Linked DNA regions of Homo sapiens: regions 2, 3, 4 and 5 are each linked to region 1. The links are contacts of gene promoters, found by promoter capture Hi-C in human tissues and cell types (Jung and others, 2019). All regions are on one chromosome and are shown on one strand. The core of a region is centred on a gene start or on the middle of the fragment in contact, and the rest is flanking DNA. Distances in the headings are between cores, read along the strand shown.

Region 1 (2,700 bases), core at 27-2,526:
TGGATGGGAGCCACGACTATCTTCATCATCTTATTTTTAATTATCTATCTGTGCACATGGTAGTAAATTTCTCGCCCTGGCCCAGGTACCCAAGACCCCAATTCTGTCGGAGACAACCGCAATTAACAACTTCTTGTGCATCTTATCAGACAGCTGGCGCGCACACCCGCAGATACGCCCACCCTCAGGCGTCCTTCTACGCAAAGATGGATAGCACCCATCAACGCTGTTTTTTCTTTTTTTAGACGGAGTCTCGCTCTGTCGCCCAGGCTGGAGTGCAGCGGCGCGATCTCGGCTCACTGCAAGCTCCACCTCCCGAGTTCATGCCATTCTCCTGCCTCAGCCTCCAGAGTAGCTGGGACTACAGGCGCCCACCACCACGCCCGGCTGATTTTTTTGTATTTTTAGTAGAGATGAGGTTTCACCAAGTTAGCCAGGATGGTCTCGATCTCCTGACCTCGTGATCCGCCCGCCTCGGCCTCCCAAAGTGCTGGGATTACAGACGTGAGCCACCGCAACCGGCCCAACGCTGTTTTTACTGTTGTTTCCTTTTTTAACCTAAGGTATCTTAGAAGTCACCCTACATTAGTGCATATTAAACATTGTTCGTCTTAATGGCTGCACAGTATTCCACTGTATGGATTATTTTTTAATTTGGTTGCCGGTACTGTTATCAGCCAGGGAATTTGCGAGGACCCAGCGGGATTTATGGAGCTGCAGAGTTGGAGTCTGGGGACCCAATTCCAACCCCAGATCTGTCCAGAATTCTGTTGTCTCGGGTATCATCTCCACCGGCGCGGTCGTGGGAGGGGGATTTGGGTGCAGACAGGACCAGCCCCAGTGTCCGAGCGAGAATCAGCGAGCAGCACGCGCAGTTGATTCCCGCGGGCGGCTCAATCATTCTGTGCAGCCACTCCGTTATACTTAGTAGCATCAAACTCATTAAGCACTCTAGCACAACCAAGCTCGGAACCGTTAGCCGACCCTCCCAGCCTCGGCACCTGACCTTGGGGAAGTGGCGCTCCGACACAGCTACTCACCCTCACCTGGGCCGCTTCACCCCTCGTTCCCAAGTACACCCCGTAGGTTGCAGCAGTCCCTGTCCCTTTAAGGGGGCCGAGCCCGGCTCCGCTACTTCCGCCCCGAAGCAGCAGGGCGCTAGCGCGGAGGCGAGAGCGGGAGAAAGCGCCGCTAGAATTCTCCTCATAAAGATGGCGACGCCCTGGCCGCCGCGTTCGCGCCCGGCGGTGACGTCACTTCCGGGGCGGAGGAGGCTGAGTGGTGCAGTGAGGGACAAACAAAAGGAGGCGCCGGAGCAGCGCTGCGGCCGGCGGCGGGACGGAGCGGCCGGGGCCTGGGGCTGCCTGCCGGGCGGCCGGGCGCGGCGAGCCCAGGTGAGTGGACGGGGTGGGGAAAGGGGCGCGAGCTGTCACCTCTCGAAACCCACTTACACACGCCCTCGGCCAGCTGCCCGGCCCGGGGCGCCCGGGGCATCTGGGGCTCTGTCTCCGGGCCGGCCCCCTGGGGACCTCCCGCGGTGTTCGGCCTACCTCTGGGCTCCCCAGTGCCCGGAGTCTCCGGGGCACCACCTTCTCGCCGGCTCCGCGGCGCGCGAGCCCCCTCCCAGGCACCCCTGTGCCTCCTTGTGCTTCAGAAACCAGGAGTTTCCGCCTCGGCTCCCCCATGTCCCCTTGTCATCCCCTGGGTCCCCCCAGATCCTCACCCCTCCACACACACTCTCCCGTTCCTAGAGGTTCCACCTCTGGGCTCTCTCCTTGCCATTTCTTTTTCAAAGATTTCCTTAGCTGTCTTCTCCTGAGTTCCTGGTCCCCTTCTCTTCCCTTGCACCCCTCCTTCCTATCGTTCCGATGGGGGCAGTGCCCTGACTTGGGGGCAGGATCCCCGGCTAGGCTCTTGGGGCCTTTCTGGGATGGGATATTTGGGAAGACCGGTCCGGAATCTAAGAACCCAGACCCTGTCCCAGTCCTGTGCATTCAGGTGGGCCCGAGGGCGAGGCGAGATCCAGTGAGGTCCAGGCCTGGTGCAGCCCTAGGTGAGCTGGATACCCAGCAAACTGAGCTCCCAGGCTGAAGGGGCATAGCTGGGGTCATGGAGTTCATGATGATTCTGCTGCTTTCGCTGACTGCTTCTTCCCCTTGATCTGGACCGGGGTGAACCGAGGTCTGCCGGTTCTCAGCTGTTGCGATTGTTGCCTTTTTTGGGAAGGAGGGATGGGTCGGGGGTTGTCTGGTAGCCGCCTCCTGATGGAGACTTGGCTGGAAGGGTGGGCGGTTCCTGGGTGAGCCACACTTCCACTGACTCCTCTTCCCCTGCCCTACCTCAGGAAGCCTTTTGAGAATGAGGTGTGGAGGGAGAGCACCTGGTAAGAGGAAGGGAACTGGGGGAGCCCGAAGTTCCCAAGGACCTCTTCCACCTCTTCTGTTAGTAGTACTCTTAACCCCTGCCAAACTGTATTCTGCCCTTTGGAGCAGACAACCTGGCAGACAGACAGGCTGTAAGAAGCGGGAGGAGATCGGCTGTTGCTGATACTTCCTGTGGAGGGGATGTGGGAGTGGGAGTTTGTTCAGAGAGACTGGGCAGTGCTGATTGCTCAGTCTCACTGGTGTTGCTTCCATGAAGGTCAAGTCTTCCTCTGGCTCATGAAGTGAGGCAAGGACAGATGACCTGTGCTGGAGGAGG
Region 2 (2,700 bases), core at 5-2,504, 270 kb before region 1:
AAATTCGGACTTTTAAAAAAATAACAAGAAGTTTTTTAACACTTTGCCCAAAGACCTAGCCTCATTCAGTAGATCAGATTAACCCAAGATAACTTTCTGAGGCAAGAATTATGTCATTCTCTGTTTTCCTGGGCAGAAGATCTCCTTACCAGGTAATATAATAGCTATTTTTCTGGGGTGCTGGTTTCCAGGGACCTCATGTCTTGGATCAATGGAATACGGGGGTTGGTGTCCTCAGATGAGCTAGCCAAGGATGTCACCGGAGCTGAGGCATTGCTGGAGCGACACCAGGTGGGTGGACCTGCCTGCTGAGTAGCAAAGACGTGGCTGCTCTGCAGGGCCCTAGAGGCCTCATTCCCACCCTTTGTGGTGAGTCGGTGGTTGACGTCAGAGTGGGCATCTGCTGCCAGTTACCTAATCCCTTCCCTCCTTTTGGCAGGAACACCGGACAGAAATCGATGCCAGGGCTGGCACTTTCCAGGCATTTGAGCAGTTTGGACAGCAGCTGTTGGCTCACGGACACTATGCCAGCCCTGAGATCAAGCAGAAACTTGATATTCTTGACCAGGAGCGTGCAGACCTGGAGAAGGCCTGGGTTCAGCGCAGGATGATGCTGGATCAGTGCCTTGAACTGCAGGTGTGTGTGCTCCTGGTTTCTGACCAAGTGTTTCCTTGCTGAAGGGCCTCATTTTCTCACCTGCCTCTTGCCCTCTTTAGCTGTTCCATCGGGACTGTGAGCAAGCTGAGAACTGGATGGCTGCCCGGGAGGCCTTCTTGAATACCGAAGACAAAGGAGACTCACTGGACAGCGTAGAGGCTCTGATCAAAAAACATGAAGACTTTGACAAAGCGATTAACGTCCAGGTGAGGCCTCTGGACCATGGAGTTGGAGTCTGGATTTTTCCTGATTGACATCTGTTTCTTGGCTTATATAGTCACTGTTATATCTCCAAGGAATACCTGCGTTGTCTAAGAAAAATATGTACATAAATAATCTTTAAAACTTTATAGATTCTGGTATTTCTGAGATTTTAATAATGGGGGTGCCACAGGAAAAAAAAATATTATCAAAGGGATGGAAAACAAATGTGTGGGTAGGTAAGGGAATAATGAACAAACAACAAGGAAGATGTAAAACTGTTTGATTTATACGTCACTTTGCTGTAAATCTGACAGCATTTTCCTATTATCAGGCTTAATTTTGTTCTGTTCTGATATTCTAACACCTGCCCCACCTGAGTGACCTGGAGACTTCTTGAGTTAAACTCTACTCTAGTAATGAATGAAATCAAGCTTTCTTTTGGCATTTTACACTCTTGCTTCTAAAGTGTCAGTGTATTCTGATCCTGCCACCAGCTAGTTCTCAGTCACCCAAAATAACTATCCTTTTCTCAAGACTGGCAGTCCAGGCAGGGCCCAGCCACAGGCCCACCTTGATCTCATGCCTTTGTTTTCTGACAGGAAGAGAAGATTGCTGCTCTGCAGGCCTTTGCCGACCAGCTCATCGCTGCCGGCCATTATGCCAAGGGAGACATTTCTAGCCGGCGCAATGAGGTCTTGGACAGGTGGGTGTCCTGTGGCACTGACATAGTCACCAGCCCTGAGAGGATGCATCCCCTCATACGAAGGCCCAGGCCTGTTCTGTCTCCCCACTTCCTTCTCCACGGTAAGATATGCTCATGTTGGATCTCATGGTTTCACTCTTTCAGGTGGCGACGTCTGAAAGCCCAGATGATTGAGAAAAGGTCAAAGCTAGGAGAATCTCAAACCCTCCAACAGTTCAGCCGGGATGTGGATGAGATTGAGGCTTGGATCAGTGAAAAATTGCAAACAGCGAGTGATGAGTCGTACAAGGATCCCACCAACATCCAGGTAAGCTGAAGTGACTGGGTGTTGGTCTTGATGTAGCCTTATGTTATTGAGTAGATTTTGTTAAATAAAGCATTTATAAAACAATCTCCTTGCACCCATGGGAAGTCAGTGAGAAATATTTCAGTAAGCCCAGCCAGTGGGAAAGCCCTAGTCAAGTTTCAGAGCCATTTAAAAGTTGCCTTCCTCATTTGTCTCCATTAAAACTATTTCTGCTGTAATAAAAGTCTATAGAATCCCCCTTCTATTACTGTTCCCAAATGCTGAGCTTCCTGGGGGAAGTATGACAAAATGAGTTTCTATTTAATAGCTGATATGTGTGTCCACATCAGTGTACTGAACTCTTGTTCTTTTAATCTGTTTTTGTAGCTTTCCAAGCTGCTGGTAAGTTTTTAATTTTTTTAAGAGTTGTAGTTAAATGAGCTCCAGTATTTGTGTTACTCTGCGTAGATTATTGTTATTATTGTGGTCACACGGTTTGCTGGTGTCTCTTCATCCATCCTTTTCATTTCTAATCATCCATTACACTCCATTCAAGTGTCCCTGTGGGATGTGGCTTTTTCTGTTGTAATTAGCCTGCAACGCCTTACTCCCCCTTCTCTCCCCCAGTTTATCACTTAGGCAAATTCTGTACAGTGTTTGATTTGCGGGGCAGTAATTGACCATTTTCTTTCAAGGAGTGCTTCCTTTTGAAGATGGAACATCAGCTTCAGCTTTTTCTGTGTAGACATTGGCTCAGACTTGCTATGAGCTCATGGTGTTCGGTGGCCTGGGTTGGGGAGGCCAGTCTGGTGTGAGGGTTTTAATGCATACCCACTCTGGCATCCAGAG
Region 3 (2,700 bases), core at 187-2,686, 290 kb before region 1:
AATTTTAATTTTATTTTTAGTAGAGACAGGGTCTCGCTATGTTGTCCCATCTGGTTTCAAACTCCTGGCCTCAAACAATCCTCCTGCCAAAGCCTCCCAAAATGCTAGGATGATAGGAATGAACCACCCCTTCTGGCCCATTTTTCACTTTTTATTATGAAAATGTAATCATACCTAAAGGAGAGAGAAGATGACTTCTCACTCACCTTCAACCGTTAACATTTGTCACTCTTGTTTCATCTATGTGAAACCATATGTGTGCTTACATACATACTAACATACCAACATGCACACATACATATATACATACCTACAAACATACCAGCATACACATGTACATACCAGTGCGCACATATACCCACATACCAACATGCACACATACATACATAGATGTACTTGGTTTTTTACTGGTTATCTGTTTTTTGACTAAAATTCTCAAATTTTATTCATAAAGGTCTAGGTATAGTTCCTGTACCTAGCTCTTACCACTCTTCACAAAAACTAGAATGAGTTGAATTTTTCCTTTTCTTTTTTTTTTTCTGAGACAGAGTCTCACTCTGTCATCCAGGTTGGAGTGCAGTGGCATGATCTCGGATAACTGCAACCTCCACCTCCTGGGTTCAAGCGATTCTTCTGCCTTGGCCTCCTAAGTAGCTGGGATTACAGGCGCCCGCCACCACGCCCAGCTAACTTTTTTTGTATTTTTAGGAGAGATGGGGTTTCACCACATTGGCCAGTTTGGTCTTGAACTCCTGACCTCAAGTGATCTGCCTGCCTCAGCCTCGCAAAGTCCTGGGATTACAGGCGTGAGGCACCGCGCTCGTTCTGTCGCTAGGGCTGGAGTACAGTGATGCAATCACGACTCCCTACAGCTTTGACCTCCTGTGCTCAGCAGTCTTCCTGCCTCAGTCCCCTGAGTAGCTTGGACTACAGGCACGCACCATCACATCTGGCTAATTTTTGTATTTTCTGTAGAGATGAGGTTTCAGTATGTTGCCCAGGCTGGTCTTGAACTCCTGGGCTCAAGCTGTCTGCCTGCCTCAGCCTCCCAAAGTGCTGGGATTACAGGCATAAGCCTCTGTGCCTAGACCAGGATGAGTAAGCTATAATCATAATATATATGATTGTCCCAAAAGATGAGAATCCTGAAAAACTTTGAAAATGATATTAGCACTGTAAGAAGGGCAGGAGGTGATTACGTCATTGTGCAACTGAGAAAGGCTGTTGAGGCAGGATGGCAGGTTGGCGAGGCAGTGGAGGATGGGAGGCTTCAGCCCCTGCACAGTGCTCCATGTGTGGTTTTGGTTTCAGGCTCTACTGAAGAAACACGAAGCTTTGATGTCAGATCTCAGTGCCTACGGCAGCAGCATCCAGGCTTTGCGAGAACAAGCACAGTCCTGCCGGGTAAACTTGTAACAGTTTATGGGTTACTGGAGGGAGGCCTTGAAGGACTCAGATACTGTCAGCAGGTGTTCCTATCATAGGCCCCATTTGACTCTGCTATTAACTCTTGTGACACAAAGATTTACAGAGTTTAAAATAAGATTTATTTATTTATTTATTTATTTAGAGACAGAGTCTCACTCCGTCGCCTAGGCTGGAGTGCAGTGGCACAACCTCGGCTCACTGCAACCTCCGCCTCCTGGGTTCAAGCGATTTTCCTGACTCAGCCTCCTGAGTAGGTGGGATTACAGGTGTTCACCACCATGCCCAGCTAAATTTTTTTTTTTTTTTTGAGATGGAGTCTTGCTAGAGTGCAGTGGCACTATCTTGGCTCACTGCAACCTCTGCCTCCCAGGTTGAAGCAATTACCCTGCCTCAGCCTCCTGAGTAGCTGGGATTACTGGCGCCCGCCACCACGCCCAGCTAATTTTTGTATTTTTAGTAGAGATGGGGTTTCACTATGTTGGCCGGGCTGGTCTTGAATTCCTGACCTCATGATCTGCCCGCCTTGGCCTCCCAAAGTGCTGGGATTATAGGTATGAGCACTGTGCCCGGCCCTACTTTAAAATGAGATTTTTTTTTTTTTTTTTTGAGATGGAGTTTCACTCTTGTTGCCCAGGTTGAAGTGCATTGGCCTGATCTTGGCTCACCGCAACCTCCGCCTCCCAGGTTCAAGTGATTCTCCTGACTCATCCTCCCGAGTAGCTGGGATTACAGGCACGCACCACCACGCCTGTCTAGTTTTGTATTTTTAGTAGAGATGGGGTTTCTCCATGTTGGTCAGGCTGGTCTCGAACCCCCGACCTCAGGTGATCTGCCTGCCTCAGCCTCCCAAAGTGCTGAGATTACACGTATGAGCCACCGTGCCCAGACAAAATGAGATTTTTTTTTTAAAGATACCAAAAATTTAAAGTTCTTGGATCAGATTTTATTGGTAGCTTCAGTGAAGAATTCTCATGAGTGTATATTTGGTACATTTGGTACAGCTGGTGGCATTTGAATCTGCTCTGTACTTAGATGACTCAGCGCGGACGTGTTTTTACCATGTTTGCCCTTCCTTTGGATTTTTAGCAACAAGTGGCCCCCACGGATGATGAGACTGGGAAGGAGCTGGTCTTGGCTCTCTACGACTATCAGGAGAAGAGTCCCCGAGAGGTCACCATGAAGAAGGGAGATATCCTTACCTTACTCAACAGCACCAACAAGGCAAGGCACAGAGAGTGGCTGTGTGTTTGTTCCACGCTGGCACCTCCACGT
Region 4 (2,700 bases), core at 102-2,601, 320 kb before region 1:
ATGGGACTACAGGCATGTGCCACCACACCCAGCTAATTTTGGTATTTTTAGTAGAGACAGAATTTTATCACGTTGGCCAGGCTGTTCTCAAACTCCTGACCTCAGGTGATCTGCCCGCCTCGCCTCCCAAAGTATTGGGATTACAGGTGTGAGCCACTGTGTCTGCCTCACTGTTTTTTCACTCCAAAGTGCAGATGTGAAAAGGAACTAATAAAGAGGGAGTGAAGGCCGGGTGCTGTGGCTCACGTCTGTAATCCCAGCACTTTGGGAGGCTGAGGTGGGTGGATCACCTGAGGTCAGTTCGAGACCAGTCTGGCCAATATGGTGAAACCCAATCTCTACAAAAGTACAAAAATTAGTCGCGTGTGGTGGCGGGTGCCTGTAATCCCAGCTACTGGGGAGGCTGAGGCAGGAGAGTCACTTGAACCTGGGAGGCGGATGTTGCTGTGAACCCAGATAGCATCACTGCACTCCAGCCTGGGCAACAGAGCAAGACCCCATCTCAAAAAAAAAAAAAAAAAAAAGAAGTGAAAGGAACTAATAAATAACCAAACAGCCATCAATAAATAATATGTCGGCCAGGCACGGTGGTTCACGCCTGTAATCCCAGCACTTTGGGAGGCCGAGGCGGGCGGACCACAAGGTCGAGATCAAGATCATCCTGGCCAACATAGTGAAAGCCTGTCTCTTAAAAAGAAGAGAAATACAAAAATTAGCTGGGCGTGGTGGTTTGTGATTGTAGTCCCAGCTACTCGGGAGGCTGAGGCAGGAGAATTGCTTGACCCTGGAGGCGGAGGTTGCAGTGAGTCAAGATCGCACCACTGCAATCCAGCCTGGCGACAGAGCAAGACTCCATCTCAAAAAAAAAAAGGCCAGGCGCGGTGGCTCACGCCTGTAATCCCAGCTCTTTTGGAGGCCGAGGCAGGCAGATCACGAGGTCAAGAGATCGAGACCATCCTGGCTAATATGGTGAAACCCCATCTCTGCTAAAAATACAAAAAATTAGCCGGGCGAGGTGGTGGATGCTTGTAGTCCCAGCTAGTCGGGAGGCTGAGGCAGGAGAATGGCATGAACCGGGGAGGCGGAGCTTGCAGTGAGCCGAAATTGCACCACTGCACTCCAGCCTGGGCAACAGAGCGAGACTCCGTCTCAAAAAAAAAAAAAAAAAAAAAAAAAAGAATATGTCAATATGTCAACTCTAATCATGTTAAGAATCACTGTGTCTATTGTGCCATATTCTGGGAACCGGAGGATCCCAGGTCATCCTGGCCTTTGCAACTTGCTTACTAAATTACCTGTCTCCCAACTACTTAATTATAAAACGATGGCAGTTTCTTTATTTCCAAGCTCTGAATATAATTGGATCTATAATATGTGCCAAGTCCTGAGTTCTGTGCCCAGAGAGTAAGAGTAAAATATGGTCTTCTTTAGAGTTCCTTAAAGGACTTATGAATGTGGTAGGGAGAACACAATAATTTCATGGCAGAATGTGGCAGTGTTATAAGATGAATGATAGAGGTGGGTGGTCAGGGAGTGGAGACTTCTGATTCAGAAAGACTTCATAGAGGACGAGGCATTTGCTTTGGACTCAGAGATCTGTATGATTTGTTTTTTATATTTTTTATTTTTTTGACAGGCTGGAGTGCAGTGACGCGATCTGGGCTCATCACAACCTCCGCCTCTCAGGTTCAAGCGATTCTTCTGCCTCAGCCTCCCGAGTAGCTGGGGCTACAGGCGCGTGCCACCACACCCGGCTAATTTTTGTATTTTTAGTAGAGATGTGGTTTCACCATGTTGGCCAGGCTGGTCTGGAGCTCATGACCTTGTGATCCACCTGCCTCGGCTTCCCAAAGTGCTGGGATTACAGGCGTGAGCCACCGCGCCCAGCCGAGATCTGTATGATATTAGATGGTAGGGTTGGGAGTGGGAGAGGAGAGTGCACTCCTGGGAAAGGGAACTTTTTGAGCTTTCAAATGGACCCTGTCCAGGACCTGTAATTGGTGTTGGTGAGGGAGCTTGACATGAGATACGGCTGGAGGAGACAACTGGAAGGTGACTGAGTGAAGTCTTGTTTACCTTGTAGTAAATGTGATTATAGTGATCCTTGTCAGGGTCCTCATCAGAAATCAGCCTTCTCCAAAATAGGCTGACAGACTTAGGGCAGCAGTGTAAACTATGACTGCCTGTTATCATTAAATATTACAAAACTTTGGGAGGCCAAGGTGGGCGGATCACGAGGTCAGGAGATCGAGACCATCCTGGCTAGCACGGTGAAACGCCATCTCTACTAAAAAATAGAAAATATTAGCCGGGCGTGATGGCAGGCGCCTGTGGTCCCAGCTACTCAGGAGGCTGAGGCAGGAGAATGGCGTGAACCCAGGAGGTGGAGCTTGCAGTGAGCCGAGATCACGCCACTGCACTCCAGCCTGGGCGACAGAGTGAGACTCCGTCTAAAAAAAAATATATATATACATGTATGTGTATATATATATATATATATATATATATATATATATGTATATATTTTATTACAAAAACTGCTCTGAGCAGACATTAAGCTTTTCAAGGTCACTCCCAGTTTTTGGTTTTAAGGACTTGACGTCTGTTTTAAGAATAGAAAATAGGCCAGTGCAGTGGCTCATGCTTGTAATCCCAGCACTTTGGGAGACTGAGGCATGTGTATCACTTGAGTCCAGGAGT
Region 5 (2,700 bases), core at 185-2,684, 340 kb before region 1:
AATGAGAGTCTGTCTTAAATATCATTGCCCAAACAAAAACACAAATTAGGGGCTGAGCACAGTGGCTTATGCCTATAATTATGCCTATAATTGCAGCTCTTTGGGAGGCCACAGGAGGAGGATCACTTGAGCCCAGGTGTTCAAAACCAGCCTGGGCAATATAGCAAGACCCCATCTCTACAAAAAAAAAATTAGCCAGGCATGATGGCATGCATCTATAGTCCCAGCTACTAGGGAAGCTGAGACAGGAGGATCGCTTGAGCCCAAGAGTTCAAGGCCTCGGTGAGCTATGATCGCACCACCGCGCTGCACTCCAGCCTAGGTGACAGAGTGAGACACCGTTTCCAAAAGATAGGTGTATATCATAGGTGTGATTCATGTGTCTTTCTCTCCCTGTAGAATTGAAGCTATCACAAGCTCAGGACAGATGGGCTCCTTCATACGCCTCAAGCAGTTCTTGGAGGTAAGATGCCCTTAGACCAACATGCCCCACACTGTTGTTGGGCTGGAATGCACCTATGTCTGACAAGTCTTGGACCTTCCGATGCTCTGATTGCACTCTCTTCCTTAGTTCTTCCAAACCCTTCTTTTTGTTCCTAATTCCCTCTTAACCTTTGGAGTAAGGGCTGCCATTTCCTCTTCTTTATATGTATCATTCTCTATACTGCCTGTGAGAAAGCTATGCTGAGATGAGTAAAATATATTTAGTGTATCTCCTCTCATTAATATATATTTTTTTTGCATGTTGGCCAAGGTTATTTTCTTAGTCTCAGGTCTGGGGAATTGGTAAGTGTCATCACTTTTCTCCATGAGATCAAACTGCACTTTCAGTTGGACTCTTCCCCTACTTCCAAGTGCCAAGAGATTGTAAAAGGTTAATTTTGACAAAGAATTTAGAACACTATAGTGGGTTTGCCAAGATAGCCTGCTGACTTTTCAGCTTCTCAAAGCTCGATTGTGAAAATAGTGATTGTGAAAGATGAGGTTAGCCTGTAGGGAGACAAGAGTGGGACAGGAATAATAAGAGCATTTCATTTGTTGTCTGGAGCAGATCATGCAGAAGTGGACATCTTATACAGAACCATCAGTCTTACTGGCTTTTTCCTTTTTGTTCACTGTTCCATAGGGCTGAAATATGGTGTTCCTCAAAGCTTCTTTTAACCATTAAGTGTTGGGAACACTGTTATCAGAAACTCATTCTGTTTTCTTCATCTTTCCCTGACCAGAAATGTTTGCAACACAAGGACATTCCTGTCCCCAAGGGCTTTCTGACTTCCTCCTTCTGGCGCTCCTGATGTCACTCCATCACCCACCATCACCGCTGCTGCAAAGAGGCAATAATAAAGGAACTGAAGACAGCTGTATTTGGGAGAAGTCATGTCAGATTCAGAAATTTGCCATTATGTATTTTTATGTATTTATGCCTTGTGACTAGGAGAGGAGATTTTCATGGGTCACAAAATTCTTGGAGGTCCCTTAGTAGATTTGGTAGTTCCTTAAGAGATCCACGTGATAAAATAAATGGAGTTGGCCTTTCTTGTTTTTTGCAAAAGTGATAAAAGGTCTTTAGCACTTGGTCTCCTCCCTTGTCTCTAGTGTCTTTCAGAAAGTTGGCAATACCTTAACAAATGCACTCTGAGCTGGAGGGAGCCCACCATTTGCACCCACCTACCCACCCTCACCCCTGTTCAGATGAATTTCCAGAAAGAGCTAAGGCTCATAAGGTTCCCTTTTAAGTATTATTTAATAGTTGAGGCCAGATACTTACATGCAAGTCTGGGTTATGGTTGTTTTGCCTTTCTCAGCTTGTGAAGTCATTCTAAAGCTAGAGGAAGTATGTGATATACACATGGACTAAGGCTCAGGTGACACTATGGCTAGATTAACATCTGGGATTAGGACTGGAAACACATGTCATTTTGAACTAAGGGAAACTCTTTGTCATCCTAATTTGGAATTTGGTCCCTGGATGGCTAGGGATCCATGAACCAGGCAGGTACCTTTTTTGTTTTTGTTTTGTTTTGTTTCTTTTCTGTTTGAATTAAGATGGGCTAAGATGGGGCTTGCAACATTAAACATGAGCTGAGCATCCATAAGCATTGAATTGGGATTAAATAAAGATGTTGGGCAGGAACTGAACACTGCTAATATGATGATAAATATGCCTGACTAAAGCCACTACAGAAATCCAGAGATTGGCTGTTAAAATTTGTTTTGTGGAAAGACTAATTCTCTTTGATACTGCAGAGGCAGTGGCCATGGATCTGTTCCTCTGTGCTAAATGTCTTGTGGCAGGGTGTGTTTGTGGGGGAGTGTTCACTGGTACTCTTGAGTGGCCTGAAGTGACCCATTCTATGAATTGTTAATTAAGGTGCCAAAAAAAATTAATAATAAAGCTTGGTTTTTTGAAAAACCCATTGCTGATATATTGGTTCAATATGATCAATTTCCTCTGCCTTGAGCTATGTAAATCATGATAGTATACAAGTCCAGGTATAGAGCGGTATGCATTTATTCCTTTTGGTCTTCTTGACCTACACCTTGGGAATATTACTTCTTTTTCTGTCATTTCCTTTTTTGGAATTATGTACTAATAACTGACCCTATTTTATCTAGCAAGAGATGTGAAAGTGTATTAAAATCTTTGAAAGACACAATAGGCCGTGCTTAGTGGCTCATGCCTGCAGTCCCAACACTTTG

The links. Contacts are between HindIII fragments. The study calls those that stand out against the background at their distance.
Region 2: a contact is called between a fragment that was not itself captured here and the fragment with the promoter of LRRC8A in region 1, in 6 of the 25 tissues and cell types used here (H1 embryonic stem cells, aorta, dorsolateral prefrontal cortex and 3 more).
Region 3: a contact is called between a fragment that was not itself captured here and the fragment with the promoter of LRRC8A in region 1, in 2 of the 25 tissues and cell types used here (bladder and dorsolateral prefrontal cortex).
Region 4: a contact is called between a fragment that was not itself captured here and the fragment with the promoter of LRRC8A in region 1, in 1 of the 25 tissues and cell types used here (dorsolateral prefrontal cortex).
Region 5: a fragment that was not itself captured here is called in contact with the fragment with the promoter of LRRC8A in region 1 in 4 of the 25 tissues and cell types used here (dorsolateral prefrontal cortex, hippocampus, lymphoblastoid cells and 1 more).

What each region holds. Positions count from the first base shown.
Region 1 is chr9:128,880,857-128,883,556 of GRCh38, forward strand. LRRC8A (leucine rich repeat containing 8 VRAC subunit A) reads left to right here and starts at 1,277. Exons shown (of 4, transcript NM_019594.4): 1 at 1,277-1,394. KYAT1-SPOUT1 (KYAT1-SPOUT1 readthrough) reads right to left here and starts at 1,094. Exons shown (of 25, transcript NR_182311.1): 1 at 1,041-1,094. KYAT1 (kynurenine aminotransferase 1) reads right to left here and starts at 1,094. Exons shown (of 13, transcript NM_004059.5): 1 at 1,041-1,094. RefSeq lists an enhancer at 1,164-1,313 and a silencer at 1,344-1,623. The HindIII fragment of the contact is 17,929 bases long and covers 1-2,700 here.
Region 2 is chr9:128,607,413-128,610,112 of GRCh38, forward strand. It overlaps SPTAN1 (spectrin alpha, non-erythrocytic 1), which reads left to right. Exons shown (of 57, transcript NM_001130438.3): 32 at 192-291; 33 at 440-637; 34 at 718-864; 35 at 1,462-1,565; 36 at 1,710-1,872; 37 at 2,239-2,253. Among named protein-coding and RNA genes, the nearest start is that of DYNC2I2, 48 kb to the right of the region's middle. The HindIII fragment of the contact is 5,536 bases long and covers 1-2,700 here.
Region 3 is chr9:128,586,295-128,588,994 of GRCh38, forward strand. SPTAN1 (spectrin alpha, non-erythrocytic 1) reads left to right here. Exons shown (of 57, transcript NM_001130438.3): 20 at 1,312-1,404; 21 at 2,515-2,649. Among named protein-coding and RNA genes, the nearest start is that of SPTAN1, 35 kb to the left of the region's middle. The HindIII fragment of the contact is 3,861 bases long and covers 1-2,700 here.
Region 4 is chr9:128,560,512-128,563,211 of GRCh38, forward strand. The region is part of intron 1 of SPTAN1 (spectrin alpha, non-erythrocytic 1); the gene reads left to right. Among named protein-coding and RNA genes, the nearest start is that of SPTAN1, 9.3 kb to the left of the region's middle. The HindIII fragment of the contact is 5,340 bases long and covers 1-2,700 here.
Region 5 is chr9:128,539,876-128,542,575 of GRCh38, forward strand. GLE1 (GLE1 RNA export mediator) reads left to right here. Exons shown (of 16, transcript NM_001003722.2): 15 at 400-463; 16 at 1,227-2,413. The coding sequence ends at 1,295. The region is part of intron 2 of LOC101929270 (a long non-coding RNA gene); the gene reads right to left. Among named protein-coding and RNA genes, the nearest start is that of SPTAN1, 11 kb to the right of the region's middle. The HindIII fragment of the contact is 3,623 bases long and covers 1-2,700 here.